Regions from separate parts of the Homo sapiens genome. Here all the other regions are linked to region 1. The links are contacts of gene promoters, found by promoter capture Hi-C in blood cells and fetal thymus (Javierre and others, 2016). All regions are on one chromosome and are shown on one strand. Each heading gives the region's core, a stretch centred on a gene start or on the middle of the fragment in contact. The rest is flanking DNA. Distances are from core to core; before and after follow the strand shown.

Region 1 (3,975 bases), core at 1,212-3,711:
TCTAAGATACCATCCACCATCTTTTTCTTTTCTCTCTCTAAACTCCCCTTGGGCCCCCTTATCCACACTCAGGGTTTTAACAATTAATAAACTGATTCCACACAACTTCCTTATTTTAGCACTCAGCTTGCGGTGTTTATATCCAAATAATAACATCTCCACTTAGATGTCTAAATATTTCAAAATAAACATATGTAATCCAAACTCATTATCATCTGCTCAAAATTTGTCCTTCCTCTTGGTGTCACCTCCTAGTCACACAAGTAAGAAATTTAGTCCTTGACATCTTCCTCTCCCTTACTCCCATGGCTGGTCACATAGTTCTACTGAGTTTGTTTTGTTTAGTTCTACTGATTTTGTTCCTAAGTGTTTAACAGGTACTTTACTCTCTATTCCTACAGCACTGGCCAATTCAGGGCATCACTGACTCAGGTGGACTATTATACCAGCCTCTTAAGTGGTCCCCTTGCCTAACACACATTTTGCCTATTACTTTCTCTGGGAATCCTTCCATGACCAGTCCATAACTGGTCTTGGAATCTTCGTCTTCTTCAATTTCAGTGTATAGGCCTGTTCTACATGCTACCATGCATCCTGTGTATTACTTTATTCCAGAACCTATCACACCACTTGAAATGATCTGCTTAAGTATTTCTCACCCTTTATGGCAAGAGCTGAATCTTAATCATCTTTATATCCCCAAAATCTGTCTCAGTGATAAGCAAAAACTTTGTTCTCTCTTGTATCTTTTAAATTTCCTCGTACATAAAGGTATTGCCAATTACAAAAATTTACTAAATTGTTAAAAAGCAAACAAAGCGACCGGGAGCGGTGGCTCACGCCTGTAATCCCAGAACTTTGGGAGGCCGAGGCGGGTGGATCACGAGATCAGGAGATGGAGACCATCCTGGCTAACATAGTGAAACCCTATCTCTACTAAAAATACAAAAAAAAAATTATCCGGGCGTGGTGGCGGGCGTAGTCCCAGGAGGCGGAGCTTGCAGTGAGCCGAGATCGCGCCACTGCACTCCAGCCTGGGCGACTGAGCAAGACTCCGTCTCAAAAAAAAAAAAGGCAAACAAAGCGTGTGTTGGACTAAAATGATTTCTCTGTTTCTACACTCTATGTCCAGTACTACTTTTCTGACTTTTCTTAGCATTACTCGTAATCAGTCCTTGGACTGCTTCTATCCTTTCTACAGTCATGCATCTTTATAACTCCAACTATGTGTACGGCTCACTAATCAATGTCTACAGTTCTGCCCTTTCAACTGGGCACCAATTTTGAGTTTTCAATTGTTTATCTGAAATTTCCATTCAGATATCTCATTTGAATATGTTCACATCAATCTTCCTGACCCCACTAGCTCCCTGATTCTAATTCCTTGCCATTTTGAACTCTATGTACAAAGCAAAAGAATTTCAAATGGAAAAAGGAATTTCATGAAATGACTCTTTGAAAAGGAAGACGGTGTATGATCAAAATGGTTTTTCCAGAAGAAAACGAGTACAATAAACATCTCTTTCCAGTGGAAAAGATATTACTCTAGGTTTCCTGCTAACTTTGAGAAAATGTACAACATAAAAAATTTCACCCAATTTTCTTTGCCACCGTTTTACTGTGGTGAAAAAAAGCTTACCATTATATTATTACCAGTGGGATTAAGAGGCGGGCATTAGCAACAAATATACCACTAACTTCGGGGTTATTCAATCAAAGAGTCACACAATTTCCAATTATTCACACAGAGAGGCAGCCTGGCCTTTGGATCCAGAATGATTAGCGATACAAACTAGTGCTGACAAAGTTAGCGGCTGCATAATCTTGCCACCTTAATTAACCCCTCAGGATTTCATCTTCTGTAAAACAGAAGGGTGACATCTACCTTGCAGGGCTGTTGTGAAGACGATAAGTATTACATTTAAAACATCTGCTTCTAATTATTATTACTATCGTTATCCTCCCTAAGCCAACCATTCTCACACAGGTGAATAAGTGGAAAGTTGCTAACTGCCCGCACTGTGATCAACAGACAGAAATAAGTCCCTTCCACTGTAAGAGGCAGAAATGTATTGCTTTGACTAAAATCCTTCAGCCCATCGCGGTCCTTCCCTCTGCTCTGTGCTTGGCGGGTCTCCTGCGGGGGGTCGGGGAGGGGTCGGGCTGTTGGAGGAGGTCTGTTCGCAACCTTCGCTCGACTAGAATTGGTACATGCCTGGCCTGGCTACAGGCCCGACGGTAACAGTTAGCTAAGACCGAGTTTGAATTTGTTTTGTTTGGAGCGGATCAGCATCTCCAAGGCAAGAGAACAGACGTGGGAGGGAGGGAGGAAGAGATGGGACCCGGGGATTCTCACCTCCGCCGGCGCGGAAGGAGGGCAGTTGCCCGGCTCGCGGGTGCCTTAACTTCTTTCTGAGGCCCACGCTCAGTTTTCCTCGGCTCTCAGGCCTACCCACTAACTGCCGTGCGCCGCGGCGTATCCCGGCAACGGGGGCGGGATAGCGGAGGCTCCTCATCCTGAGTGACCAATCCTCCGCCTCAGCCCTTGGTTACACACGGAGCTCTCGCGAGAATTGAGGATATGTTTGTTTCTTCACCACGCTTCAGTGCTTTTTGGAAAAAGTGGAAAACAGCGGGGCGGCTGGAAGACAAACATTTTATGTGAACGTTTGGTTTTCTTGATAATCAGAGCAACCTCCGTGTGCCTTACTTGAAGTAACTCTAGCGAGTTTTGCTATGTCCCTAGGTAACCTCACGTCGGCTAACGTTGTTAACAGGTTACATTTGAAGTTAAGTGGTAGGCAGCATTGTGCAATTTTCTAAACTCCTAATTTGTGGTAGTTTTCCTTCCTATTAGGACGGCATAGCGTACACAACGCATCATGAAGTATGGATGCGATTCTGGCACCAACTGTTCCGTTCCTGCTTTCACCAGAAGCTTTGCGTCTTTAAGCTTCCTTTCATTAGAATTTGGATCCAAGTTTGTGGGGAAGACTGTGAATTCAATGGAAAGTGTCCTTTTTTTTTTTTTTTTTAATTTAAGAACTACTTCACCTTAAATCCCACTTCTCTAATAAAATAACTTTTACTGTATGTTTCCTTCCAATCTTCATTGATAACAGCTTAAATGTGATTGCATATGTATTGGGATTTTAACATTATTTTACACATTATTTCCAACTTGCCTGCCTTCGAGGAGTTAAAAATCAATACAACACAAAATGAGATAATGTTATGTGGCTGAATTCTCCCTTAGTTTGTGAAACATTTTCATGTAATTATCTCATTTGAGCTCACCCTATTTGCAGTGGCCATTTGTCATCCTTTTGGCAGAGTTTCTCCCTTACCCTGCCCCCCAACACCCTTACAGGAACTGAAAGTGACAGATACTGGCTTTCCTAGTCTTCCTTATTACTGGGACATGAGTATTATTGCTTGCTAGACTCTCCAATCTAATTTGGTGGACTCAACTCAAACTTGAATGACAACCAGAAGCAGGACTTCAGAGAGTCTGTTGAAGTAAGGGTGACAGCCGCAGTAACTACATCGTTTCCGAGACTGCAATGTTCTATCACCAGCAACCAGTGTCCAGCATCAGTGTGTTGTTGCAAGCTGCAGTGTTAGGTACTCAGAGGCTTTATTGGGAGGAGAACCTCTAGCTTGTTTCTTCAGCTTCTGGGAGAGTCTGTGAGCTGCTTAATGTCCTTTAATAAATTCATTTTCAGCTTTTATATCATTTATAGATGATTTCTGTTCCTTGCACTTAAGGACCCTGACAGATATTAACAGTTGAAATTGGCAGGACAGATACTATTATCCAAGTTTTAAAGAGATTAAATAATTTGCTTAAGCTCATTTAGGTAGTAAGTATTGATCCCTGTCCCCATTTCTTTTTCATGATGAAAAAGGAATAGAGAATAGGAATACATCTCACTTATTTGCCTCTGAGCTTCCTTAGAGTAGGCACCATATCTT
Region 2 (4,200 bases), core at 335-2,834, 7.9 Mb after region 1:
TCAATGGCAATGGATGGCATGCAGGTTTTGCTTTGACTTCCAATAGCTCCCACCTCTTTTTTGTCTGGCCATGTTTCCATCCTCCCCTGTAGAGTTCTGACTTCCTACTGGGAAGGCAAGGAGCAGCTTCCCACCCCACTGTTCTTAAGAATGATCAATAAGCTTTGCTCCTGTCTGAATCTACCTTGCTGACTTCCTATAACTGGGGTTGGAACTCTCTCTCTGTAAAATGTCAGATAGTGAATATTTTAGCTTTTGTGGGCCAAGAGGCAAAATCGGGAATGTTTACACAAATTTTTTGAAAAAATTCAAAACTTTATTCACAGACACTGAAATTTGAATTTTAGGTAAGTTTCATTTGTCATGTAATATTATTATTTTAATTTTTTCAACCATTAAAAAATATGAAAACCATTCTTAGCTCAATGGCCAGATAGAGTCAAGTGGCCAACTGCAGACAATAGTTTGCTGACCTCTATTCTAGAGCCTATTACTGAAGGAAAAAACCTAACCCCCCCCACACAAAAAGAAACCCTCTGAATATTAAGTGTCTTGCAGTCCAAGATGCCTCTGACTGACTCATTCACTAAAATGAATGGAAAGAGTTAGGAAGCATAGGAAAGAAAAGCATAAAGATTGTCAATACTTTAAGCTCCCATTTCCCATAAGCAGGAAGTCAAAATGTTTTAAGTCCAAACAACTGGCCAGAGCAGTGTCTTTTGAACTTGCTTCATGACCAGAATCACCTGGCTTCTTGTTGAAGCTAGATTCCCGGACTAGAGGTTTTGATGCAAGGGAGACTTCTGGGTGGGGGTGTGCTCTCGGGATCAGGTAAGCTGAAGAAACACTATTCCAGGGGGTGTAAAGGAACCTCAAAAGCTGTAGTTCTTAAAGTGTGGTCCGTGGCCCAGCAGAACCAGCATTACCTGAGAGCTTGTAAGAAATGCAAGTCTTTGGCCTACCCTAGAAACACTGAATCAGAAACTGGGGGTGGGGTCTGGCAATCTGGTTTTCATCAAGCCAGGTGGTCCTGATGCCAACTAGAATTTGAGAACGCCTGCTTCAAGGCATCATTACCAGCATCTGGAGAAGTGATTGAGAACCCACCTGAGCAGTGAAGGCCTGGGCGCTCTTAAACCACTGTGTTCTCAAGAGCGCAGGTCTGTGGGTGAGAGCAATTCTAACAGACATCTGAAGCCAAAGGCCTAGGTTTCCACAGGAAGATCTGGAAACCCTGTTCAAGGCAAGCCTTTTGGAAGTCAAGGCTGTATTCCCCTAAGAGGGGGCACCATGGATCCTAGAGATAGCAAATGCCACCCAAGGTGATGGTGAGGGAGTTTTCAGCTTTTCTGCACGTGTGACCGTTTACTGCACCAGGAGCTTTCTAGTGACTTCCACCTTTTTCAGGTTTTTCCAAGGTTCACCGGGGAACCCCTGTCCTGGGCCTGCCAGTGAGGTGCTGGGAGCTTCCCGACCTCACAAGCGGCTCTTGTGATGTAATTGCCACCTGAGGCGTGCCCCTCCTGGCCCTGGCGACATCACAGAGGCTACCTGGGCACGGACCCCGCAGCTTCCTGGGGCCCAGTCAGCCGCTCCAGGTGCTTAAGTCTGGACTGCGGAGGCCGGGGCGGTGGCGTGCAGGGTGAGGTCTCCCGGGCTGGCGCGCGTGCAAGCCCCCTGCTGCTACCTCGCGCTAGGCCAGCTCCAGGAGGGCAACAGACGACAGGACATTGCAAAAGGGCCACTTAAATTTTCCTTCGAGTAAACAGAACACCTGCCAAGACCCTCGAGCCTGGGCGTGCCCCAAGACAGGTGGTTGGGGTCTAGGAGTCGGCTGCAGCTGGCGATGCTCTGAGGGGACGTCAGGGCCTCAGGATCGCCCCTATGAAGACGAAGTGCATCTGTGAACTGTGCTCCTGCGGGTAAGGTGGCCACGCCCAGGGCAAGGCTGGGGGAGCCTGGGTTTTCAGACTCCCGAGGAAGGGAAGCCTCCCCCAGCTGCTTCATCAGGCGGCATCACGGTGGGTTCGTCCACTTGCTACGTTTTTTAAGCCACAATTGTGTCAACTAGCGTTGTGCCCGCGGACGCCACATCAGTTCTGGCGAATGTGGCTGTTTTCGGGCCTTCTGTGCCGCTTCACTTGAGAACTGCAGGAGGGTTGAAAATGGGCGTGACCGCGCAGTCTGCACTCCCTTCCCTGAAGCCCAGAAAGTGTCAGCCAAGGAGGGAGAACACCTGGCCCAGTGGGACCAGTCTTGCTCCTTTTGGGAAAGTGATAGGATGGGAGGAGAATTCCTGTAGTATAACTGAATTTCTCATTCAGAGAGATTGTTACTTTGTCAGAGAAGTATAAGGTATTAGTAAAACTTGTTCCACATTGTGTAGAGTTGAATAAGGATAATGAAAACATTACTTTCACAGTCGCCTGGCCTGCCAGGTCTCCCTTCTAACCTTTAAGGACCATCTTTGGGTGGAAGCGCAGTAAAGGTGGTCCTGGGGGAAATCATGGACTTTAGTCAGAGTCCCACGGGCTGACTGGTCTGCTGTCACTCACATGATCTCTTAGAGGCTCCTTCTATCTGCTTCCCAGGGCAGCTGGGTTTCTGCTTGGCTGGGGCAGGGAGTGGGCAGCAGAGGAGCAACAGGCAAGAGGGTTCTGAGGTCACCTTTCCTGGGCTGTCATTAATTGTGGGATCTTAGATTGGTAACTAAACTCCAGGTCATAGTCGCCTCATCTGTACCAACAATACGTACCTCATAGGACTATTGTAAGAGTTAAGATCATGTATGTGAGTCCTGGTACATGGATTGTGCTTAATATGTTAGTGTCCTGAAATCTGAAAAAAGGGCAAATATGACACATGCATATAAAAATGGTATCAGTAGTGTGGAGAATTAAAGGGCACTCTAAAAACTGGATCAGCAACCTTCTATATCTCTGGCATCAATAAATGGTTCCCAACTCTGGCTGCTGATTAGAATCACACAGGGAGTTTGAAAACTATCAGTTGCTCAGGCCGTTGAATTGATACTCTCAGAGTGGGCCCTGTCAACTGTCTAAAGGTGATTCTGGCCATTTGCTAGGACTGGGACTCACTGAACTAGATCATGTACAAACGTGGGTCTTGCTTTTGAGCTTTGTTAAGTGGGGCCAGAGCAGTGTATAGTCTAGGACTACATGTTACCAAGCAAAACCTTTTTTTCTAAGGCCGCCTTTCTTTTTTCTTTTTGGAGGCAGTGTCTTGCTCTGTTGCGCAGGCTGGAGTGCAGTGGTGCCATCTCGCTTCACTGCAACCTATGCCTCAGGGTTCAAGTGATTCTCCTGCCTCAGCCTCCTGAGTAGATGGGATTACAGGCACATGCCACCATGCCTGGCTAATTTTTGTATTTTTAGTAGAGACAGGGTTTCAACCATGTTGTCCAGGCTGGTTTTGAACTCCTGATCTCAGGTGATCGCCTGCCTCGGCCTCCCAAAGTGCTGGGATTACAGGCATGAGCCACTAAGGCCTTCTTTCTACTGGGATGCTTTACATTACCCTCCTGTGTCCTCCTGCATTGTTCTAGGCATTGGGATTGAATGTATAAGACATAGTCTCCATCTTTGCACAGCGTGCAGTCTAGGTAGGAAGGCAGAATGCTCATTAAGAGGTGCAGAGCATATATAGTGAGAAGTCTCCCTCCTGCCCCTGCAGTAGGGTTATGACTCATTTGGGTGTTCCTTCTCTGACTCTGTTCTCATTCTGTCCCTGCAAAGGAGTCACTTTCCATTGGAAGCAGAGTCTGTTCTTGTGTCTCTTCTCCTTTTCTTCTCTCCTCATCCTGTATTTTCTCCTCCATTTTATGGTTTCAGCCAATAGTTTCTCCTGTCTTCTGAATTCCAGTTTCATTTTCATCTTCTCAAAGTGCTTTGGTGATCCATCTGTCTCATTAATCTCAACTTCAACAACCTTCAAACATTATTCTGGTATCTGCCCCATTCATGGTGCCAGCAATCTTCCATTCACCCTGGGTGAAAATTTTGAATCATCTCTTACTCTCCCTCAAACAGAACATTGAATCTTTTTCTTCTTCTTATTTTTTTATTTTTTTTATTTTTTTGAGATGGAGTCTTACTCTGTCGTGCAGTGGCGCGATCTCTGCTCACTGCAACCTCCGCCTGCTGGGTTCAAACGATTCTCCTGCCCCAGCCTCCCAAGTAG
Region 3 (3,834 bases), core at 347-2,846, 7.9 Mb after region 1:
TTTTCTTTCTTTCTCTCTCTCTCTCTCCTCTTTTTTTTTTTTTTTTTTGAGACAGAGTCTCACTTTGTCGCCCAGGCTGGAATGCAGTGGAAGGATCTTGGCTCACTGCAACGTCTGCCTCCCGGGTTCAAGCGATTCTTCTGCCTCAGCCTCCCGAGTAGCTGAGCTGGGATTACAGGCATGCGCTACCACGCCCGGCTAATTTTGTATTTTTAGTAGAGACGGGGTTTCTACATGTTGGTCAGGCTGGTCTCGAACTCCCCACCTCAGGTGATCCGCCCACCTTGGCCTCCCAAAGTGCTGGGATTATAGGCGTGAGCCACTGTGCCCCGCCTCTCTCTCTTTTATTAAGGTGATTTTAGTGAGGCAGGAGACAATCATTGCCAGAGGTAGCAATGAGACTTAAAAGCAGGTTACCCAATCCACTTCCAGGCCCTGTTGTCAGTGGGGTTTGTGGTAGGCAACAGCTGTCAATTAAGACGACGGGCCGGGTGCGGTGGCTCACGCCTATAATCCCAGCACTTCGGGAGGCCGAGGAGGGCGGATCACGAGGTCAGGAGATCGAGACCATCCTGGCTAACAGGGTGAAACCCCGTCTCTACTAAAAATACAAAAAATTAGCCCGGCGTGGTGGTGGGAGCCTGTAGTCCCAGCTACTCGGGAGGCTGAGGCAGGAGAATGGCGTGAACCTGGGAGGCGGAGCTTGCAGTGAGCCGAGATTGCGCCACTGCACTCCAGCCTGGGAGACAGAGCTAGACTCCGTCTCAAAAAAAAAAAAAAAAAAAAAAAAAAAATTAAGAGGACTGCAGGCGGCCAGGCGCAGTGGCTCACGCCTGTAATCCCAGCACTTTGGGAGGCCAAGACCGGCAGATAACCTGAGGTCAGGAGTTCGAGACCAGCCAGCCAACATGGTGAAACCCCGTCTCCATTAAAAATACAAAAAAATTAGCCGGGCGTGGTGGCGGACACCTGTTAATCCCAGCTACTCGGGAGGCTGAGGCAGGAGAATCGCTTGAACCCGGGAGGCGGAGGTTGCAGTGAGCCGAAATCGCGTCACTGCACCCCAACTTGAGCAACAAGAGCGAAACCCCGTCTCAAAAAAAAAAAAAAAAAAAAAAAAGACTGCAGGACTGCAGGGGAGTATAGAGCCAGATTTCATTTAAAGCAGGAAAAGGAACATCCGGCATTTGAGGACATAGATTTCGCTAACGACAGAAATGAGGCTCAGAGATTACGTGACTTGATTAGAGTCACAGTGAGCATAGCGGAGGATGGAACCAATGCTTTAACTCTACACCGAGGCATAGTGCTCCATTTATGGCTTTTTTGTGACGTAACAACTAGGATACACAAGCAAATGGACCCCACTAACCAAGAATCAGAAACCCGAAGGCCCGAGGATCTGGGCACGACAGCGGTTAAGCAAGCGCAGAGCAAGTCGCTGGCCGCGCAATGCCCGGTGGGTCTTGCAGTTTCTTGGCTGGGCATGGCCGGAAGGGAGGAGAGAAGGACGCATTGCATGGCGGGAGATATAGTCTTTGCCGGAAGTCCCTCCTCCCTCGGACGCCTGGCGGCGCCGGCGCACACTGCTCTTCCTTAAGGGCGGGAGTCTCGGTTTGTGGTGGCTTCGCTGAGGCAGTGGTGGCCGCACTATACCGTTAGAAACTCAATTTCCCGGAGGTTGTGAGGCCCTTTGAGGCGAAATCGCTCTGGGCGTGAAAGGAGCAGGCGTTGGCAATGGAAGGACCACCGCGACCTCAGGCTGACCGTAGGGAGGGATCTTGAGGGCCCTCCGAGTCCCCTGGGCTTGCGCTTTCTTTCTTTGCAGCCACCGTGCCTACCGCGAGGATGAGCTCGGCCTCGGTCACCGCTTTCGAGAAGGAGCATCTCTGGATGTATCTGCAGGCGCTCGGCTTCGAGCCAGGCCCGGCAACCATTGCCTGCGGAAAGATCGTGTCGCACACGCACCTCGGAGTGTAAGGAGGCCGGGGCCGGCGGGGCGAGGGAGCCTGAACCGGGGGACGCCGGGGGACTCCCCCTTTTGTAGACCCCGGAGGTTGATTAATCAGAATTGGTTGAGCAGTTACTCTGTGCCAGGCATTGGCTCCAAAGTTCCTACTCCCAGTTGCTGCCAGCCTAGGGGCAGAGACAGACAGTAAATAATGCAAGAGTGCCGGAAGCGCTCTGTAGGGGAGTGCAAAAGTCTGCAGATGGGGAGAGTGCAAGACTGGAGGAGCAGCTTAACTCTGCCTATGTGGTGGAGGGGTGGTCTGTGAAGTAGTGGGAGGGATGGCGGGTGGTAGTGGAAGAGCATGGGAACCATATGTACAAAACACCTTTTGGACTCAAGGGAGCCTTTGAAGGTGGTTGTTTAATTTTATAATTTTTAATTTTTTAATTAGTAAGGCATGTTGGAGTTAGCATAAAACAACGGAGAAGGGTATTAAAAACAAATACCCTTTTAAGAAAAGTATGGAAAGTAAAAGCCCCTTCCCTACTTTTTCCACTTCTGTTTTATCAACTTTAGCCAGTATCTCTATTTAATCATTCCCACTGTAGGCCAAGAGGAATTCTTTTCTTTCATATGGAGTCTCCCTCTGTTGCCAGGCTGGAGTGCAGTGGCACGATCTCGGCTCACTGCACCCTCCAACTCCCTGGTTCAAGCGATTCTCCTGCCTCAGCCTCCCGAGTAGCTGGGATTACAGGCACTTGCCACCACGCCCAACCAATTTTTGTATCTTTAGTAGAGACGGGGTTTCACCATGTTGGCCAGGATGGTCTCGATCTCCTGAGCTCATGATCCACCTGCCTCGGCCTCCCAAAGTGCTGGGATTACAGGCGTGAGCCACCGTGCCCGGCCTCTATTTTTTTAAAGTATTATTATTTTAGAGACAGTAGCTAACCATGTTGCCCAGGCTGGTCTCAAAATTCCTGGGCTCAAGCAATCCTCCTGCTTCGGTCTTCCAAAGTGCTGGGATTATAGATATGAGCCATTGTTTTTTGTTTTGAGACAGGGTCTCCCACTCTGTCGCCCAGTCTGGAGTGCAGTTGTGCGATCACAGCTCACTGCAGCCTCCAACTCCTGGGCTCAGGCGATCCTCCCACTTCACCCTCCTGAGTAGCTGGGACTACAGGTGCGTGGCACCATGCCTAGGGTCGGCATGTTGCCCAGGCTGGTCTTGAGCTCCTGGCCTCCAGCAATCCCCCCGCCTTGGCCACTCCAAGTGCTGGGATTACAGATGTGAGCCACCGAGCCTGGCCTGTTTTATTTATGTTCATAGTTGTACATATTTTGGGGATATAAAATTTTGATATTTTGATACACTTATACAATGTATAAGGATCAGATCAGGATAAATGGGATAGCCATCATCTCAAACATTTATCTTTCCTTTGTGTTGGAAACATTTCAGTTCTTTTCTAGCTATTTTAAAATACACAATAAATTATTTTTAACTATAGTTTCACTTATGTACTATTGAACACTAGAACTTATTCCTTCTATCTAACTGTATATTTGTACCCATTAATCAACTTCTCTTCCTCCCTCCTTCTCTCCTTTTCCTTTCCTAGACTGTGTTAACCACCATTCTACTCCCTACCTCCATGAGGTCCACTTTTTTTGCTTTCACATGTGAGAACATGTGATATTTGTCTTTCCGTGCCTGGTTTATTTTACTTAAGATAATGACCTCCAGTCCCATCCATGTTGCTGCAGATGACAGGATTTTCTTCTTTTTGTGTGGCTGAATAATATTCCATTGTGTATATATACCACAATTTCTTTATCCATTCATCTGTTTTCTTTATCCATTCAACTTAGGTTGATTCTGT
Region 4 (4,360 bases), core at 572-3,071, 7.7 Mb after region 1:
GGTGGATCACCGGAGGTCGGGAATTTGAGACCAGCCTGACCAATGTGATAAAACCCCGTCTCTATTTAAAAATACAAAAATTAGCCAGATATGGTGGTGGGTGCCTGTAATCTCAGCTACTAGGGAGGCTGAGACAGGAGAATCTCTTGAACCCAGAAGGCAGAGATTGCAGTGAGCCGAGATCTCACCGCTGCACTCCAGCCTGATGGACAGAGCAAGACCCTGTTTCAAAAAAATAATAATAATATTTGACTGTATAAAAAGTAGGAGAGTCGGAGAGCCCGATATCAACATAATTGTTATAATGATTATAGTGTCACAGTTTTAGTTGGGCCTATGTAGATAGAAGAATGCATAGGAAAAAATCAGCCCATCGAAGAGGGGAACACAGACATTCTAGCAGAAAGCTCCTTCTTGCTGCCTTCTGACTGGGCGTGGTCACTGCAGATTTCCGTGGAACTGTGACACAAAGGAGTGGAATGAAAATGTTGAAAATTTCCTTAAGATATTTTTGGGGCCGGGCGCGGTGGCTCACACCTGTGATCCCAGCACTTCGGGAGGCCGAGGCGGGCAGATCACCTGAGGTCAGGAGTTTGAGACCATCCTGGACAACATGACGAAACACCATCTCTACTAAAAATACAAAAATTAGCCGGGCGTGGTGGTGTGCGCTTGTAATCCCAGCTACTCAGGAAGCTGAGGCAGGAGAATCGCTTGAACCCGGTAGGCAGAGGTTGCAGTGAGCCGAGATTGCACCACTGTACTCCGGCCTGGGCGACAGAGCAGGACTCTGTCTCAAAAAAAAAAAAAAACATGATTTTTTTTTTTTTTTTTTTTGAGATGGAGTCTTGCTCTGTCGCCCAGGCCAGAGTGCAATGGTGTGATCTTCGTTCACTGCAACCTCTGCCTTCCAAGTTCAAGCGATTCTCCTTCCTCAGCCTCCTGAATAGCTGGGATTACAGGCACGCGCCACAACACCCGGCTAATTTTTGTAATTTTTAGTAGAGACGGAGTTTCACCATGTTGTTCAGGCTGGTCTTGAACTCCTGACCTCGTGATCTGCCCGCCTCAGCCTCCCAAAGTGCTGGGATTACAGGCATGAGCCACCATGCCCAGCCCCGCTTCAAAAACTTCTAATCATTGCCCTGTGAGGGCAGGAGTAATATATATCACAGATGTGTATTTATATGTTTTTATTCTGGATGCCTAGGATCTAGCAGAGTAACTCATATATATTATAGTCTCTCAGAAACTAATTGATGGGCCAGGTGTGGTGTCTCAAGCTTGTAATCCCAGCACTTTGGGAAGCCAAGGTGGGCAAATCGCTTGAGCTCAGGAGTTCAGGACCAGCCTGAGCAACATGGCGAATCCCCATTTCTACCAAAAATACAAAAAATTAGCTGGGTGTGGTAGTGCATGCCGGTAGTCCCAGCTACTCGGAAGGCTGAGGTGTGAGGATCACTTGAGCCTGGAAGGCGGAGGTTGCAATGAGCCAAGATCGTGCCACTGCACTCCAGTCTGGGTGACACCTAGACCCTGTCTCAAAAAAAAAAAAAAGTTAAAAATAATAATAATAATAATTGATGAATGCCTGGCATAAATCAGTCTGTGCTTCTCTCACTTTCTTTCTCTCTGTTCTTGGGTAAGTTACTTAACTTTTCCTCATCTGTAAAGTAAGTAGAATGATATTCACAAAGAAGATCATTTATTAATTTACAATAGGCTATAAATATTAAACACATCAGTTCAGGAATCAATAATCAGCACATGTGATAGGCAGCCTCTCAGTATGGTTTACAACAATTCCTGCCTCCTGCCATTTATATCCTTGTGTAATCCCCTCATATTGAGTGTGGGGTGAACTTACTGACTGGTTTCTAATACACTGAGTACTTCAAAACTGATAGGATAACTCTAACAGGATGAAATGATAAAAGACTGTGGCTTCAGTCTTAAATTCTTTGTCTCATCCTCTTGGATTGCTTGCTCTTGGGGAAACTAGGTACCATGCCATCAGGTTTCCTTGTGATTTTGATTAGAAGTGGATCCTCCCCAAACTGAGCCTTGAGATGAGCATGGCCTCAGCCAACATCTTGATTGCAGCGTCCTGAGAGACCGTGATCCAGATCACCCAGCTAAGCCACTCCCGGATTCTTTAGTCATAGAAACTGTGAGGTAATAAATGCTTCTTCTTTCCAGCTGCAAAATTTGGGGATAATTTGTTACACGACAACACATAACTAATACAGCAGTACCTGGAAGGTAACAAGTGCTCATTAATGGTAGCTCTTCTTTTAGTGAATATGATTGGATTCATTCAGCATATGACTTGGCATCCTGTAATGCTGATCCAAGCTTATTTTAATACCATAATGATAGTGTTTACAATTGCAGTAAGAAAAAGTAGGAAAAGTAGAAAGACTGACTTTTGGTTTTTGTTTTTTGTTTTTTGAGACAGAGTCTCGCGCTGTCGCCCAGGCTGGAGTGCAGTGGCGCGATCTCCGCTCACTGCAACCCGCGCCTCCCGGGTTCACGCCATTCTCCTGCCTCAGCCTCCCGAGTAGCTGGGACTACAGGTCCCGCCACCACGCCCAGCTAATTTTTTGTATTTTTAGTAGAGACAGGTTTCACCCTGTTAGCCAGGAAGGTCTCGATCTCCTGACCTCGTGATCCACCCACCTCGGCCTCCCAAAGTGCTAGGATTACAGCGTGAGCCACTGCACCCAGCCGGAAAGACTGACTTTATCTCATCTGTTATTTATAAACCACCTTTGATAGAAGAGAAATTTGTTAAGAGTGTGTTTCATATGTTGTCTAGGATTTGCTTCAAAATAATCCGTGGGAGATGGGGAGGAGTGCGGGAAAGAGAAGGGAGTAGGTAGGGGTTAGGTAAAAAAGATTAGACACATGTGGAAGTTGGGTGATTGGTACTTAAGAGTTCCTTTCCTTTTTATGGCTTTTTGAATTTTTCTGTAATAAAAAAGTCTTCTTTTTTAAGTATTTTATGGAATCAGAAGTTTGGAGCTGAATGCCAATCTTTAGAGATCATCTATTCTAATTAACTGATTTGATAAGATGAGGAAATTAAGCCCCAGCCAAATTTACTGAGTTGTCCAGAGTCCCTCAGTCTCAGTTTTGGTGATTTCATATTTACATATTGAGGAGAAATTACTCACTTCAAAGTTCTTTTGATTGATTGATTGATTGCCAGCCTCAGAAGTCACATAGCTCACCAAACAGTAACTTGTTCGAGATTTCCTAAGAGAGCCTCCACAGCATTAAAATTCAAGCCTGGTCTCCACTTTCCAATATGTAATCTGCATGTGGTAGACTGGCGAGTTATTTGGCTCCAGTCCCCCAACTCATTAATTTTAGAAAACATAGTATTTGAAGGCCCAGTGCTTCACACCTGCAGGCACCGTTAGCCACTGTTTTAGATTTTTAAGTTAAGTAACATCAACAAACACTAAATCTGTTTTATTAAACACTAAATCTCCTATTTAAATGACCCAGAATATCCCACCCTTCGCAGGGAGTGTTAGCACACTCTTCTCTTTGTGCTCCCTCCCATATCTTATCTTGCTAGGACTCTGTCTCAGCATTATCAAAGTGGGCTAGAGTCTCTTGGTACTCAGCACATTCTTTATCTAGCTTTCTTTTCTAGGCCTACAGGCCAAACGTGGCTGGGCAAGGAGTGGGAAGGACTGTCACGAGGCTTCTCATCTTGAGTGGGAGGAGAGTAAGTGATCCTGAGAACAGTATCTTAATAGGTCATAAAGAAGAGCAGGCGTTAGCAGAGGGAGGAAGACAGAGAAAGGAGTAATGGGCAGGAAGATAGTCTATATGAGTATCTGAGACATAAGACCTGCTGCCCATAGCTGGCTTTTTTTTTTTCTTTCTTTTTTTTTTTTTTTTTGAGACGGAGTTTTGCCCTTGTTGTCCAAACTGAAGTGCAATGGTGCGATCTCGGCTCACTGCAAATTCCGCCTCCAGGTTCAAGTGATTCTTGTGCCTCAGCCTCCCAAGTAGCTGGGATTACAAGGGTGCGCCACCACGCCTAGCTAATTTTTTGTATTTTTAGCAGAAACGGGGTTTTACCATGTTAGCCAGGCTGATCTCGAACTCCTGACCTTGGGTGATCTGCCTGCCTCGGCCTCCCAAAGTGCTGGGATTACAGGCGTGAGCCACTGCGCCCGGCCCATAGCTGGCTTTTATGGGCTCCCTAAAGTATTTTATGTGAATGGAACAGTCCTCTGCCCTCAGTCTTTCCCCACTATTGGGTATTAGTGTCTGTGCTGACTTGACTACTACTTTAGCATTTACCTCCAAATATGGCCAATTTCCCTAAGTGGCACTTGTC
Region 5 (4,106 bases), core at 1,352-3,851, 7.9 Mb after region 1:
GACTCCGTCTCAAACAAACAAACCAAAAATAAATAAAAAGCTATGACTCTTATGGTTAACTTTTCAATGGAAGTAATGGGGTGTAATGATTAGGAGAGTCAGTAGTCAGATTGCCTGGGTTTAGCTGTATGACCTTAATAAGATCATAGTTTGCTCATCTGCTAAAATAGCGATCAAAGTAACCTACCACATAGGTTGTGAGGATTCAGTAAGATAAATGCACAAGTGCTTAAGAACACCTGACATTTAGTAAGGGATCAAATATTCAAATAGGTTTCATATCCAGTAATTTGGGGAAGAATGGCTCAGTAGGTAGTAATGGTAGTTAACAGAGTATGCTATGCGCTAGGCACCATTCCTAAATACTTACCATGTTGAATTTAATCCTTTTAAACATCCTATCAAGTGGTTTTTTATTGTTGTTTTTGAGATAGGGTCTTGCTTTGTCACCCAAACTGGAGGCCAGTGACACAATTATGCCTCACTGCAGCCTCTACCTCCTGGACTCAAGCAATCCTCTCTCCTCAGCCTCCCAAGCAGCTAGGACTGTAGGCACGCACCACTACGCCTAGCTAATGAAAAAAAATTTTTTTTTGTAGAGAGAGGGTCTCTCTATATTGCCCAGGCTGGTCTCGAACTCCTGATCTCAGGTGATCCTCCCACTTCAGCCTTCCAAAGTGCTGGAATTACAGGTGTGAGCCACCACGACTGGCTATAAAGTAGTATTCTGACCCACATTTTACCAATGAGGAAACAAGTGTAATGAAATTAAGTATTTGCCCATGTTCACAGAGCTAGTAAGTGAAGGGACCAGAATACTAACTCAGGTGGTCTAGCTTCAGTCCATAGCATAAGCGCTTCTACAGCTGTTACCAAACATCACTAAAGTGCTGGGGGCTAAATTCACAGAATCAAATTTGCCAGTCAAGCAATACTTGTGGGCAGTCAGAATTTTTAGATTTGCATATTAAGCACTTTCAAGTTATTTCAAATAAGGACATGTTTTAAATTGCTAACACGTTTATTCATGAATGAAGCCAAGAAGAATTTATAAATGCATTTTAATACCTTGCTGATAAAATAGTAACATTCCGTCTTTGCAATCTGATACGGAATACAGGAAGATACTGGTAAAGGCTTTGATGTGCATATCTATCATAACCAGGTAATGAGAACACACACGAACCACCTACTTTAGTGTTACACCATACCAACTTCTCAGAAAGGTCAGCTTCAAGCTCTACTGGGTAGCTGAGTAAATAGCGTCCAATGTTTAAAGACTGGGGAAGCGGGGAGAAAGATGAAAGGAGTAAGCAGCACACACTTCAAAGCCCACTTTTAAGCACACGACATTATGAATATTAAAAATAAAGGATGCAAACAAAAAAGGCAATTCAGCATTTTCAGAAAGAGCATTTGGCAATATTCAACGCATAAGGAGACTGTGCTTGGGGCCATCCACTCTCTCCAGCTTCTCAAAGTGTTTCCGGGCATTGCGAATGTTGATCAGAGTGGCCGCAGAAGGGATCGACGGATCTGACATGACCACCATCACGTACGTATTTGAGGTGAAGATGTCGATGAAAGCAGCGAAGTTGGAATTCCTAACTTCCATGCTCTGGAAGGAAGCGGCCAATTTACTGCAGCTCAGCTTGAACTGTTTGATGATGTTGCTGATCTTCTCAAACCGGTGGACGTCGCGCTGCTCTTTGCACTGGTAGTGGGAAATAACCAAGAATGTAGCTCTTTCGAACAGCAGAACTTCATCGGCCTCAATGATTTGGGCAAAATTCCTGAGGTTCATCTCCAGCTGCTGAACGTTGGGAATCAGCTGGTAGACGATGCTGGACCAGGCTTTGTAGAGCGTCTCATCCCAGATGGACGTTCGAAAACAAGCACACTCCAGCGGGCGAGACAGACGCCTCAGGTCTTCCTCTCGCTCTTTAAAAATCAGGTCACGCTGATCCTCCTGAACCAGATCCATTTTGTGCACCAGGCAGAAGATTTTGGCGTCAGGAGAGTTCTGGAGGATGGCCTCCAGACACGACTGGTAATAATGCATGTCCTTTTCCAGTTCGCGGCTCTCCACGTCAAACACGTAAATCAAAACTTCCACGTTACGGAAGATATTGTCTCGCTGGCTGGTGAAGTAATTTTCCATGAAGGTGTCCTGACCGCCACAGTCCCACAGGTTCAGCACCAGGTTCCCTAGGAATCGGACGTGGGAGTGTTCCACGTCAATGGTGGCCCCCAGGCGCCGGGTGTCGCGAGCAATGTAATTGGCGAAGATTATCGACCTCATGCTGGTCTTCCCCGACCCGCTCTTCCCCATCAGCAGCACCTTTTTCTTCATGGCTGTATTTGGCATCACCCGCCGGGGCACCGCGGACTGGGCCTGAGGGCGCGGCCTACACGCAGCGCCGAGGGAGGGGTCGGGGGCTGCCGGGGACTCGCAGGCCGCGCCTCGCTCCGCTCCGCCGCGCAGCTGGGCAGGCAGGAGAGTCGAGAGCGCGAACCCGGGGCTGGAGAGGCCGCGGACGGGCTGGCTCTTACTCAGATGGGAGCGCCCGCGGCTGTCAGTGGCAACGGCTCGGGAGATACGCTCGCTTTCCGGGAGGGAGCCGCTGCGTCCCCGCCACCACCCACTTCCGGCGGCGATCTCGCGAGAGCTCCCTCGCTCCGCCCTCCGTGCCCGACGAGCCTTGAAAAGCCGCTGCTCTAATGAAACCTAACCGGGGCGGCGTGAGCCCTAAGATGGAAGGGAAGCTCGAGGACTTCGGTCTTTTGTTCTGTTGCAGCTGGGTTTGCTGTTGCTAGGGGTACGTGTGTGGTTGGCCGGGGGAAATGCTGCCCTCTCGTGGCCAAAAAAAGCCCCAACCGCCACCACCACCGCAACTGGCTTTAGGAGCGAGGTGTGTCGGGCCGGTTTCCGCAGGGGCAGCCGACTGGTGAAGTGGAGGGAAAGCCTAACTTCCCAGTCCGCTTAGGCCTCCCCAGCTTGCCCGGCCCAGTGAGTACAAGGGCAGGGCAGATGGAGACTGTGCAGGCGCGGAAAGTGAGACTTGTAGGCAAGCGATTGCCTGTTGCTGCGCAGCTAGGTAATAGCAAGTCCCTCCTAGGAGACATCCTGGCTTCCAGTGGGTGCTTTTAATTCCTTTCTCACATCTGCTTTTCCGTAATCTCAGACTTTAGAATTTATAATTAGAATTCCAAAGCTCGAGGAAATGATAATGTGGAATCCCAGGCATTAGTTCCATCCTCACAGTAACCCTGTGAATTAATAACCCTATTTTCAAGTTAGGGAATCAAAGGTTAGAGAGGTTAAGTCACTTGACCAAGTTACACAGATACTAAATGATGAAATGGAATTTGGTTTTAGACAATCTTGCTGCGGTCTATTTGCCTAACAATAGGCTACCCTGTGCCCCTCTCAAAGCATAATATGATTCTGCTCTTGGTCTTCAAGTAGATGAGTGAATCAGTGTCGCCAGTATCGTTCATACAGAATGAATGAGAGTCATCAGGATACTGAAGCCTCTGTATCTACCTTAAAGTCCTTTTTTTTTCTTTTGAGACGGAGTCTCACTCTGTTGCCCAGGCTGGAGTGCAGTGGCGCGATCTCAGCTCACTGCAACCTACGCCTCCTGAGTTCAAGCGATTCTCCTGCCTCAGTCCCCCAAATAGCTGGGATTGTGGGCACCTGCCACCACGCCCGGCTAATTTTTGTATTTTTAGTGGAGACGGGGTTTCACTATGTTGGCCAGGCTGGTCTGGAACTCAAGCCAGCCACCTGCCTCGGCCTCCTAAAGTGTGGGATTACAGGCGTGAGCCACCGTGCCTGGCCTAAAGCCCTTATCAAAGTGTATACTGTACTGTACAAATTCAGGTATTCCATTCTTTCATTTATTCAAAAAATATTTTAATTCCTACTGTTAACGTGTGCAGTAAAAGAAGTTCAAAAATGGCCTTTGCTGTAGTTTATGGAAATCATAGAGTGAAATTCCATAATACAATATAGTATGTGGAAAATCTCCTCTCAATGTATTCAGTTTCATCTCCTTGGTGCTACCTCTTCTGGAGCCTTCTTATCTGATCGCCTTTCACCA
Region 6 (4,013 bases), core at 946-3,445, 6.3 Mb before region 1:
TGCTTAGCTTGAATACAGCATTTTCCACTAAATATGGGGTTCATTAAAAAAAAAAAAAAAAAAAGGCCAGGTGTGGTGGCTCATGCCTATAATCCCAGCGCTTTGTGAAGCAGAGGTGGGTGGATCACAAGGTCAGGAGATTGAGACCACCCTGGCTAACATGATGAAACATCATCTCTACTAAAAATGCAAAAATTAGCTGGGCGTGGTGGTGCGCGCCTGTAATCCCAGCTACTCAGGAGGCTGAGGCAGAAGAATCACTTGAACCTGGGAGGTGGAGGCTGCAGTGAGCCGAGATCGTGCCACTGCACTCCAGCCTGGGCAACAGAGTGAGACTCCCTCTCAAAAAAAAAACAAAAACAAACAAAAAAAAACCACTAGCTAGGCATGGTGGCTCATGTGTCTAATCCCAGCATTTTAGGAGGCTGATGCAGAATTGCTTGAGCCTGGGAGTTCAAGACAAGACTGGGCAACACAGCAGACCGTCTCAAAAAAAAAAAAAATTAGCTGGATGTGGTGGCATGTGCCTGTAGTCTCAGCTGCTTGGGAGTCTGAGGCAGGAGGATCATTTGAGTCCAGGAATTCAAGGCTGCAGTGAGACATGATCACACCACTGGACTCCAGCCTGGGTAACAGAGTAAGACTCTGTCTCAAAAAAAAAAAAAAAAAAAAAATACAGTTAGATAGAAGGAATAAGATCTAGTGTTTAGTAGCACTATGGCTAACAACAATTTATTATATATTTCAAAATAACTAGAAGAGTAGAAATGGGATGCTCCTAACACAAAGAAATGATAAATATTTGAGGTGTTGGAATCCCCATATGCCAATTACCCTGATTTGATCATTACACATTGTACGCTTGTATCAAAATATCATGTGTACCCCATAAACATGTAAACTATTACGTATGCATAGTAAAAATTTAAAAATGAAAAAAAAATGTTTTTTTGTTTGTTTGAGACAGGGTCTTGCTCTGTCACCCAGGCTGGAGGGCAGTGGTGCAATCTCAGATCACTGCAATCTCCACCTCCTGGATTCAAGCAATTCTTGTGCCTCAGCCTCCCGAGTAGCTGGGATTACAGGTGCCCGCCACCACGCCTGGCTAATTTTTATATCTTTAGTAGAGATGGAGTTTTGCCATGTTGGCCAGGCTAATCTTGAACTTCTGACTTCAGATGATCCGCCTGCCTTGGCCTCCCAAAGCGCTGGGATTACAGGCGTGAGCCATCATGCCTGGCCAAAAATGAGAAGAAGATAAATTAAAAATAGAATTACCATATGATCCTGCAATCACACTTCTGTTTATGTATCCACAGGAAATAAAATCAGTAGGTCAAAGAAAAAATAATAAGTAAAAGCCATCATTTTCAATAAGAGTGACTGATTTTGTCGTATCTTAAAATATATTTTAATATTGTTGTTTAGCTGGTTTATTTAAGATCTATAACTTAATTCTGGTCATATGAAACACATGATCAAGGTAACATACTCTCCCTGCAGAAAAAGTAGTTAAGAGAAATTAAACTGTATTTTTAAAGCTGGGCTTAATAATACTTAAACGTATCAAATAGGGGAGAATAACTACTCAGAAGAGAGAATTAATTGACCTGCTTGAGATGCTGGAGACCTTGCCCATTTCTTTATGCAGTTCAAATGAAACACATGGTAACAGCTCTGACAACTCCACACTGGGGCCGTGACACGAACCAATTCACAGCACACCATGCACTCGTATTTTTCTGTTGTTAGTTGTTCAATTAGAGAACCTGTTTAAAAAACAAAATAACAAAAAAGATTAACTCAAACACAAAAAACCATTCCTCACTTTAATCAACCAAGGATCAGCAAGTCACTCAAGAGAAGAATCCAAACACAGAGATTTTAAGGGATATCTGATTCTGGGTAAGGCAGCTGGCTATTCAGACTGAGGCCAAAAAGGGGCAGGAATTTGCTGAGGAAGAGGATTTAGGAAGGAGACACTCAGGTGGGGATTCCCACAATTAAGGAAACATTCCCAGGAAAACAGCAGAGTAGCCAAATGCCCCTTGTAACATAGCCTGAGGATCCACTGGGCAATACAGGATCTTGCTTTGCATTTTCTATTTTCCAGGATCCTCTAAATCTATCAGATCCATGGATTTAGGTTAGAAAGAGGCTCGTGAAGCTGTAGTGTCAGCTATAAGAAGCCCAAGTCTGGGCAGGTTCCAACAACCCATGAGTGGTGAGATGGCTCTAGCCGTTGCCCTCAAAGTCTTTAGTCATTCACTTAACAAAGATATTCTTGGTGCCTACCATAAGCCCCATGGTGGTGTTACAGTCCCTGGCTCCAGGAGCTCAAAGTCCAGTGACACAGACCAGTGTGTAGTATCAGAATAATCCTCCCAGATCTATTCCTGAATACCTTCACCCACTTCCAGATTTTTTTCCTCAAACACAATTGCAGCAAAGTCTTTCTAGATTTCAATACAGCCAGATACTCTCAAAACTGAGTGTGAGTGTGTGTATATGCTTTTTTGAGTACATACTTTTAGCACTGCATTTATTTCATAATATTATTGTTATTTGCTTTCAGGTCTAAATAAGTTAAAAGAATAAAATTAACCTTAAATACAACATTGCAAGCACATTACATATTATTATTTAGTCCTCTCAAAAAGGCTGTAACAGGTTGGACACGGTGGCTTACACCTGTAATACCAGCACTTTGGGAGGCCAAGGCGGGCAGATCATGAGGTCGGGAGATCAAGACCATCCTGGCCAACATGGTGAAACCCCATCTCTACTAAGAATACAAAAATTAGCTGGGCGTGGTGGAGTGTGGCTGTAATCCCAGTAGTAATCCAAGGAGGATGAGGCAGGAGAATCTCTTGAACCCGGGGGCGGAGGTTGCAGTGAGCCGAGATTGCACCACTGCACTCCAGAGTGAGACTCCGTCTCAAAAAAAAAAAAAAAAAAAAAAAAAATGCTATAACATAGGTACCATTTTACAGATGAAGAAACTGGCTTCATGTAGTTAGATCATTTATCCAAGGTCACACAACTAGAAATTTAAAAGTCAAAATTCAAACTTGTCAAACTATCTGACTCAAAAGCGCACACTGTAATATTCCATAATATTGGCTCTCCTAAGATTTACTTTCTGATTGTTCAGTTTAATGTCAAAAGAAATAGAGAACACCCTGAGACTGAAAGCTCAGGAGAAGGGAGAGTTTTGTCTACCTTGCTGAGTGTAGTATTTCCAGTGTCTGGCATATACTAGGTGCTCCATTAAATATTTGTTAAATTCATGGATAAAGGAATAAATGAGTGATATTTAGTCTGTTCCACAACCTCTTTCTGTGAAAGTTACAGGCGTCACCAAAGTTTAGGCTCGAGTGCAGTGGCATGATCGTGGCTCACTGCATCTTCAAACTCCTGGGCCCAAGCGATCCTCCCACCTCAGCATCCTGAGTAGCTGGGACCACAAGCGTGTGCCACTATACCTGGCTGATTTTTTTGTTAGTTTTTGTAGAGATGGGGTCTACCTCTGTTGCCCAGGATGGTCTTGAACTCCTGGGCTCAGGTGATCCTCTTGACTCGGTTTCCCAAAGTACTGGGATTACAGAAATTTAACCAAATTAAACAAAAATCTTCCCTGAATAAGAAGTAAATAAAACAAGAGCAGAAACATCTTTTCCAAAAAGGAAAGATGAAGAAACTGTCAGAGATGGTAGGAGACTCAGGAGACATGACTAAATGCAACGTGGTATCCTGGATTGGGTCCTCAAACAGAAAAAGGACATTGGCAGAAAAACTGGTGAAATCTGAATAACATCTGTAGTTTAGTTAATATGATTATACCAGTGCTAATTTCTTAGTTTTAACAAAGGCAGTCTGGTTATGTAAGACGTTAACATTAGAGGAAGTTGGGTGAAAGATATATGGGAATTCTTTGAACTATCTTTGCAACTTTTCTATAAATCTGAAATTATTCCAAACTGAAACATTTTACAGACAAACACCTTTTTCTC
Region 7 (4,130 bases), core at 700-3,199, 7.8 Mb after region 1:
CCCTCTCTCTTGATCATAAGCCATCTCACACAACTCCTAACTCCTAATTCCAAGGCAATGACTCCTTTTTTTTTTTCGGGGGGGTGGGGGGGTGGACAGAGTTTCACTCTTTTTGTCCAGGCTGGAGAGCAATGGTGTGATCTCGGCTCACCGCAACCTCTGCCTCCCGGGTTCAAGTGATTCTTCTGCCTCAGCCTCCCGAGTAGCTGGGATTACAGGCATGTGCCACCATGCCCAGCTAATTTAGTATTTTTAGTAGAGACGGGGTTTCTCCATGTTGGATTTTGGTCAGGCTGGTCTCGAACTCCTGACTGCAGGTGATCCGCCCACCTCGGCCTCCCAAAGTGCTGGGATTACAGGCATGAGCCACCGCGCCTGGCTGTCAATGACTCCTAAATCAACCTTCACCACCCTGAGCTATCTGTGCACAGAGGGACAATGTGTGCTGGTGTCTAAGGATGACACTTAGACCACAGACCAAGAACATAGGTAACACCTGTGCATTGTAATAAAGCCCTAGATGGTAGGTTGGCAAACCTTGTCTTTAAAGGGCCAGATAGCAAATACTTTCAATTCTGTGGACCATGGGGTTTCCCTGTCCTGATTATTCAGCTTGGTCATTGTAACATGAAAGCAGGCAGAGACAATATGAAATCAAAGAGGCATAGCTGTATCCCCATAGGTTTTTATTTGCAAAAGCAGGTGGCAGGCAGGAGCTGGTTGTGGTTTGCTAAGCCCTTTGATCATTGATTTTCAAACAAGAAGCCCCTTCAGAATCCACTTGGAGAGAAAGAAAGAAATGAGAGGAAGGAAAGAACTCAGTTCTTCCCTCCCACTTATTCCAACCAGAGTAATTTAGCTTTAATCTATTTGTTTACAATGGCTGACTAACATTTCATTTGTACAAAGGGTTTCAGGGCCAAAAAGTTTGAAAGCTGCTTGTCTACCTGTTCTCTGAGTTTCATTCTAGGTATGAATCTGTCACCTTGCTCAATCTAGTCACTGTCTGCTCTGAGCCACATTCTCTGCCAAAGTAGTAACCGAACTGCCCACTTCTGATCACATTACTTATCAACCTTCAGTGACTCCCTATGAGGCATTCCCAAGCTTCCCCCTTAATCTAACATACCTTCTCCATCAGCCACCCTGGGCTCTGTGCAGGAGACTCCCCAAAGGTGCTTTTCCTTCCTTCTGTTTCTGCACATTCTCCCCTTGCCTGAGAGGCTCTCTGCCTCCCATCCCATGCTCTTTGTAATCATCTATTTCACCACCCAGAAGCAGCTTCTCTTCTATGTTCCTGCTGTACTTTGTTCATGGGGCTTTTATGTGTGCATGTTCTAGCTCCCCTGCTGGATTAATTATCCTTATTAAGGGCAGGAATTACATTTTATAGATCTCTGTACCCAGCATAGGCATTAGCAAGATACCATATGCACAACAGCTATTTGAGCTCTTTATTTAGGTTGAAATGGGGCATGCCCTGGCAGAGTGCATCCTACCTCGCCAAATATTTCTTCACCTGTCTGTCATCTTCTCACTCCCACCTCCTCTCACCATCTGTAGGAGGCTATCATTACAATGCACAGGTGTTACCTAAGTTCTTAGATTATAGAACACCTGGTTGATGCCTGGGAGCTAAAAGAACAAGATCCAGGTCAACTAGTAGTGAACAAGACATGAGAAAGAGGCTTGAGAGAGAGACAAGTCCACAAGCCTTTGATGACAGGCAGACATAAGCTCTCTGGCCCTAGTGGGAAACGTCTAGGCTGAGACAATTGCCAGAGTTTGGAAATACATTGTTTTACAGTAGAAAGAGAGCAGTAGGTCTTGGAAAAGAACATACTTAATATTTACAGCTGTTTAATATTAGGTGGATTTCTAATCCTCTGAGCCTCATCTGTAAATTAGGAATAAAACATCTTCTGTAAACCTCTGAGGGTTAGCAATAATGTTCCTCATACGTAGCATACACAGCAGGCTCAATAAGTGGAATTACAGGTTGTGAAGAAAGGGAGTAAAGAGGCAAATGAGATGTAAAAACAAGAAGAAGGAAAGGTTGTTTTAAAGATAAATGTCTTTATTTTTCTTTATAGTCTTGCTATGTTGCCCAGGCTGGACTTGAACTCCTGGCCTCAAGTGATCATCCCACTTTGGCATCCCAAAGTGTTAGGATTACAGACATGAGTTACCATGGCTGATCAAGAAAAATGTCATGAACTACTCTTTTTTTTTTTTCCACGTATGACCAGTAAATCACATTGGGCTCCTTTTAACCATGGCTGAAGTGAGACTGTAATGATGTGGCATGTGCATAGGAATCACTTGGACATCTTGTGAAATGGCAGATTCTCATTCTATAGGTCTGGGTGGGCCTGATACTGTGCATTTATGATGTAATTCGGCTGGTCTGTGAACCACACACTGTGAGTAGAAAAGTGGTTGTCCATGTAGGCTGTTGAGATAAAAACAGATGAGTCAGCTGGGATGCCTGGTCTGCTTCCCTCACATGCCTAAAAGCTACCATGCTTTCAAGAAGAAGGAGGTCAGCTGAGGGAGGTTAAACTGTTAGGGAGAACAGCACCACGTGGAATGATAAGGGCCAAAGGATGGCGCAATTACAAGTGAAAAAGAGAACTTGTGTTCTTTGGGCCTTATCTACAGACCATATTCGGACACAAGAAACTGGATTGAAATTCTTCTCAGGGAACGTTAATCTCTTTGGACCTTGGTTGAAATGCTGGAATAATTAAAAAAAAAAAAAAGATTAAGCAAGATACCATTAGAAGCTTTTGCAACAAGACACAGTTTCATCAGCGGTAAAATGAGAATAATAATAGCAATACCTAAAGTAAATGTAGCAAATTAGTCATTGCAGAATCTAGGTGGTGGGAGTGTGGGTGTTCACTGAACAATTCTTTCTTTCTTTTCTTTTCTTTCTTTCTTTTTTTTTTTTGAGATGGAGTCTTGCTCTGTCTAACAGGCTGGAGTGCAGTGGTGTGATCTCAGCTCACTGCAGCCTCCACCTCTGGGGCTCAAGTGATTCTCCTTCCTCAGCCTCCCGAGTAGCTGGGATTACAGGTGCCTGCCACCACACCCAGCTAATTTTTGTAGTTTTGGTCGAGACGGGGTTTCTCCATGTTGGCCAGGCTGGTTTCAAACTCCTGACCTCAAGTAATCCGCCCACCTTGGCCTCCCAAAGTGCTGGGATTAGAGGCGTAAACCACTGCACCTGGCCCCACTGAACAATTCTTTCAACTTTCCTGTATGTTTGAAAAATCTTCAGAGTGAAATGTTGAAAAAATATGCCTCCAAATAAGGTTGAAATTAGATACATTAGAGTAAAATAGAGGAATGTAAATAACATTAGCCCAGTCTGAACACTAGTTACTCTCTAAGGGACATTCTTTTAGCAATTTTAGAAATTATTTTGGAGGCAGAAATACACATAAAATGTTTCTGAGGGCTGGGCGCGGTGGCTCACGCCTGTAATCCCAGCACTTTGGGAGGCCGAGGCGGGCAGATCACCTGAGGTCAGGAGTTCAAGACCAGCCTGGCCAACATGGTGAAACCCTGTCTGTACTAAAAATACAAAAATTAGCCAGGTGTGGTGGCAGGCGCCTGTAATCCCAGCTACTGAGGAGGCTGAGGCAGGAGAATCACTTGAACCCGGGAGGCAGAAGTTGCAGTGAGCCGAGATCGCACCACTGCACTCCAGCCTGGGCAACAGAGAGAGACAACATACCAAAAAAAAAAAATAATTATATATATATATATATATATATATATTTCTGAAAGGATACATAAGAAAAAGTTAGCATTGGCTGTGTGCGGTGGCTCGCGCCTGTAATCCCAGCAATTTGGGAGGCCGAGGCAGGTGGATTGCCTGAGCTCAGGAGTTTGCAACCAGCCTAGGCAACACAGTGAAACCCCGTCTCTACTAAAATACAAAAAAAAATAGCCAGGTGTGGTGGCATGCGCCTGTAGTCCCAGCTACTCAGGAGGCTGAGGCAGGAGAATTGCTTGAACCCGGGGGGCAGAGGTTGCAGTGAGCCGAGATATCGCCACTGCACTCCAGCCTGGGCAACAGACAGAGACTCTGTCTCAAAAAAAAAAACAAAAAGAGAAAAGAA

What was found. Contacts are between HindIII fragments. The CHiCAGO score rates a contact against its expected background, and 5 or more counts as called.
Region 2: the fragment with the promoter of SAXO1 here is called in contact with the fragment with the promoter of IFT74 in region 1 in 1 of 17 cell types (total CD4 T cells); the score reaches 5.4 in total CD4 T cells.
Region 3: a contact is called between the fragment with the promoter of HAUS6 here and the fragment with the promoter of IFT74 in region 1, in 7 of 17 cell types (total B cells, non-activated CD4 T cells, total CD4 T cells and 4 more). The highest score is 18.7, in total B cells.
Region 4: a fragment that was not itself captured here is called in contact with the fragment with the promoter of IFT74 in region 1 in 1 of 17 cell types (total CD4 T cells); the score reaches 7.0 in total CD4 T cells.
Region 5: a contact is called between the fragment with the promoter of RRAGA here and the fragment with the promoter of IFT74 in region 1, in 1 of 17 cell types (total CD8 T cells). The highest score is 5.7, in total CD8 T cells.
Region 6: a fragment that was not itself captured here is called in contact with the fragment with the promoter of IFT74 in region 1 in 1 of 17 cell types (fetal thymus); the score reaches 5.1 in fetal thymus.
Region 7: a fragment that was not itself captured here is called in contact with the fragment with the promoter of IFT74 in region 1 in 1 of 17 cell types (erythroblasts); the score reaches 9.2 in erythroblasts.

Annotation. Positions count from the first base shown.
Region 1 is chr9:26,954,898-26,958,872 of GRCh38, reverse strand. It overlaps IFT74 (intraflagellar transport 74), which reads right to left and starts at 2,461. Exons shown (of 20, transcript NM_025103.4): 1 at 2,357-2,461. It overlaps IFT74-AS1 (IFT74 antisense RNA 1), which reads left to right and starts at 2,566. Exons shown (of 2, transcript NR_121605.1): 1 at 2,566-2,746; 2 at 2,858-3,093. RefSeq lists a silencer at 888-1,182 and enhancers at 1,779-2,513, 2,514-3,249. The HindIII fragment of the contact is 1,304 bases long and covers 1,637-2,940 here.
Region 2 is chr9:19,030,593-19,034,792 of GRCh38, reverse strand. SAXO1 (stabilizer of axonemal microtubules 1) reads left to right here and starts at 1,584. Exons shown (of 4, transcript NM_153707.4): 1 at 1,584-1,922. The coding sequence starts at 1,885. RefSeq lists enhancers at 1,155-1,708, 1,709-2,262. The HindIII fragment of the contact is 8,262 bases long and covers 165-4,200 here.
Region 3 is chr9:19,100,666-19,104,499 of GRCh38, reverse strand. It overlaps HAUS6 (HAUS augmin like complex subunit 6), which reads left to right and starts at 1,596. Exons shown (of 17, transcript NM_017645.5): 1 at 1,596-1,976. The coding sequence starts at 1,849. RefSeq lists an enhancer at 1,354-1,917. The HindIII fragment of the contact is 8,228 bases long and covers 1-3,834 here.
Region 4 is chr9:19,223,245-19,227,604 of GRCh38, reverse strand. No RefSeq gene overlaps it. Among named protein-coding and RNA genes, the nearest start is that of DENND4C, 5.3 kb to the left of the region's middle. The HindIII fragment of the contact is 1,072 bases long and covers 1,286-2,357 here.
Region 5 is chr9:19,047,922-19,052,027 of GRCh38, reverse strand. RRAGA (Ras related GTP binding A) reads right to left here and starts at 2,601. Exons shown (of 1, transcript NM_006570.5): 1 at 1,003-2,601. The coding sequence starts at 2,368. The coding sequence ends at 1,427. It also overlaps a transcript of SAXO1 not described here. RefSeq lists a silencer at 2,343-2,532 and an enhancer at 2,140-2,661. The HindIII fragment of the contact is 15,757 bases long and covers 1-4,106 here.
Region 6 is chr9:33,299,019-33,303,031 of GRCh38, reverse strand. It overlaps NFX1 (nuclear transcription factor, X-box binding 1), which reads right to left. Exons shown (of 24, transcript NM_002504.6): 3 at 1,611-1,769. Among named protein-coding and RNA genes, the nearest start is that of NFX1, 11 kb to the right of the region's middle. The HindIII fragment of the contact is 7,607 bases long and covers 1-4,013 here.
Region 7 is chr9:19,152,703-19,156,832 of GRCh38, reverse strand. No RefSeq gene overlaps it. Among named protein-coding and RNA genes, the nearest start is that of PLIN2, 27 kb to the right of the region's middle. RefSeq lists a cis regulatory region at 2,175-2,763. The HindIII fragment of the contact is 1,679 bases long and covers 1,110-2,788 here.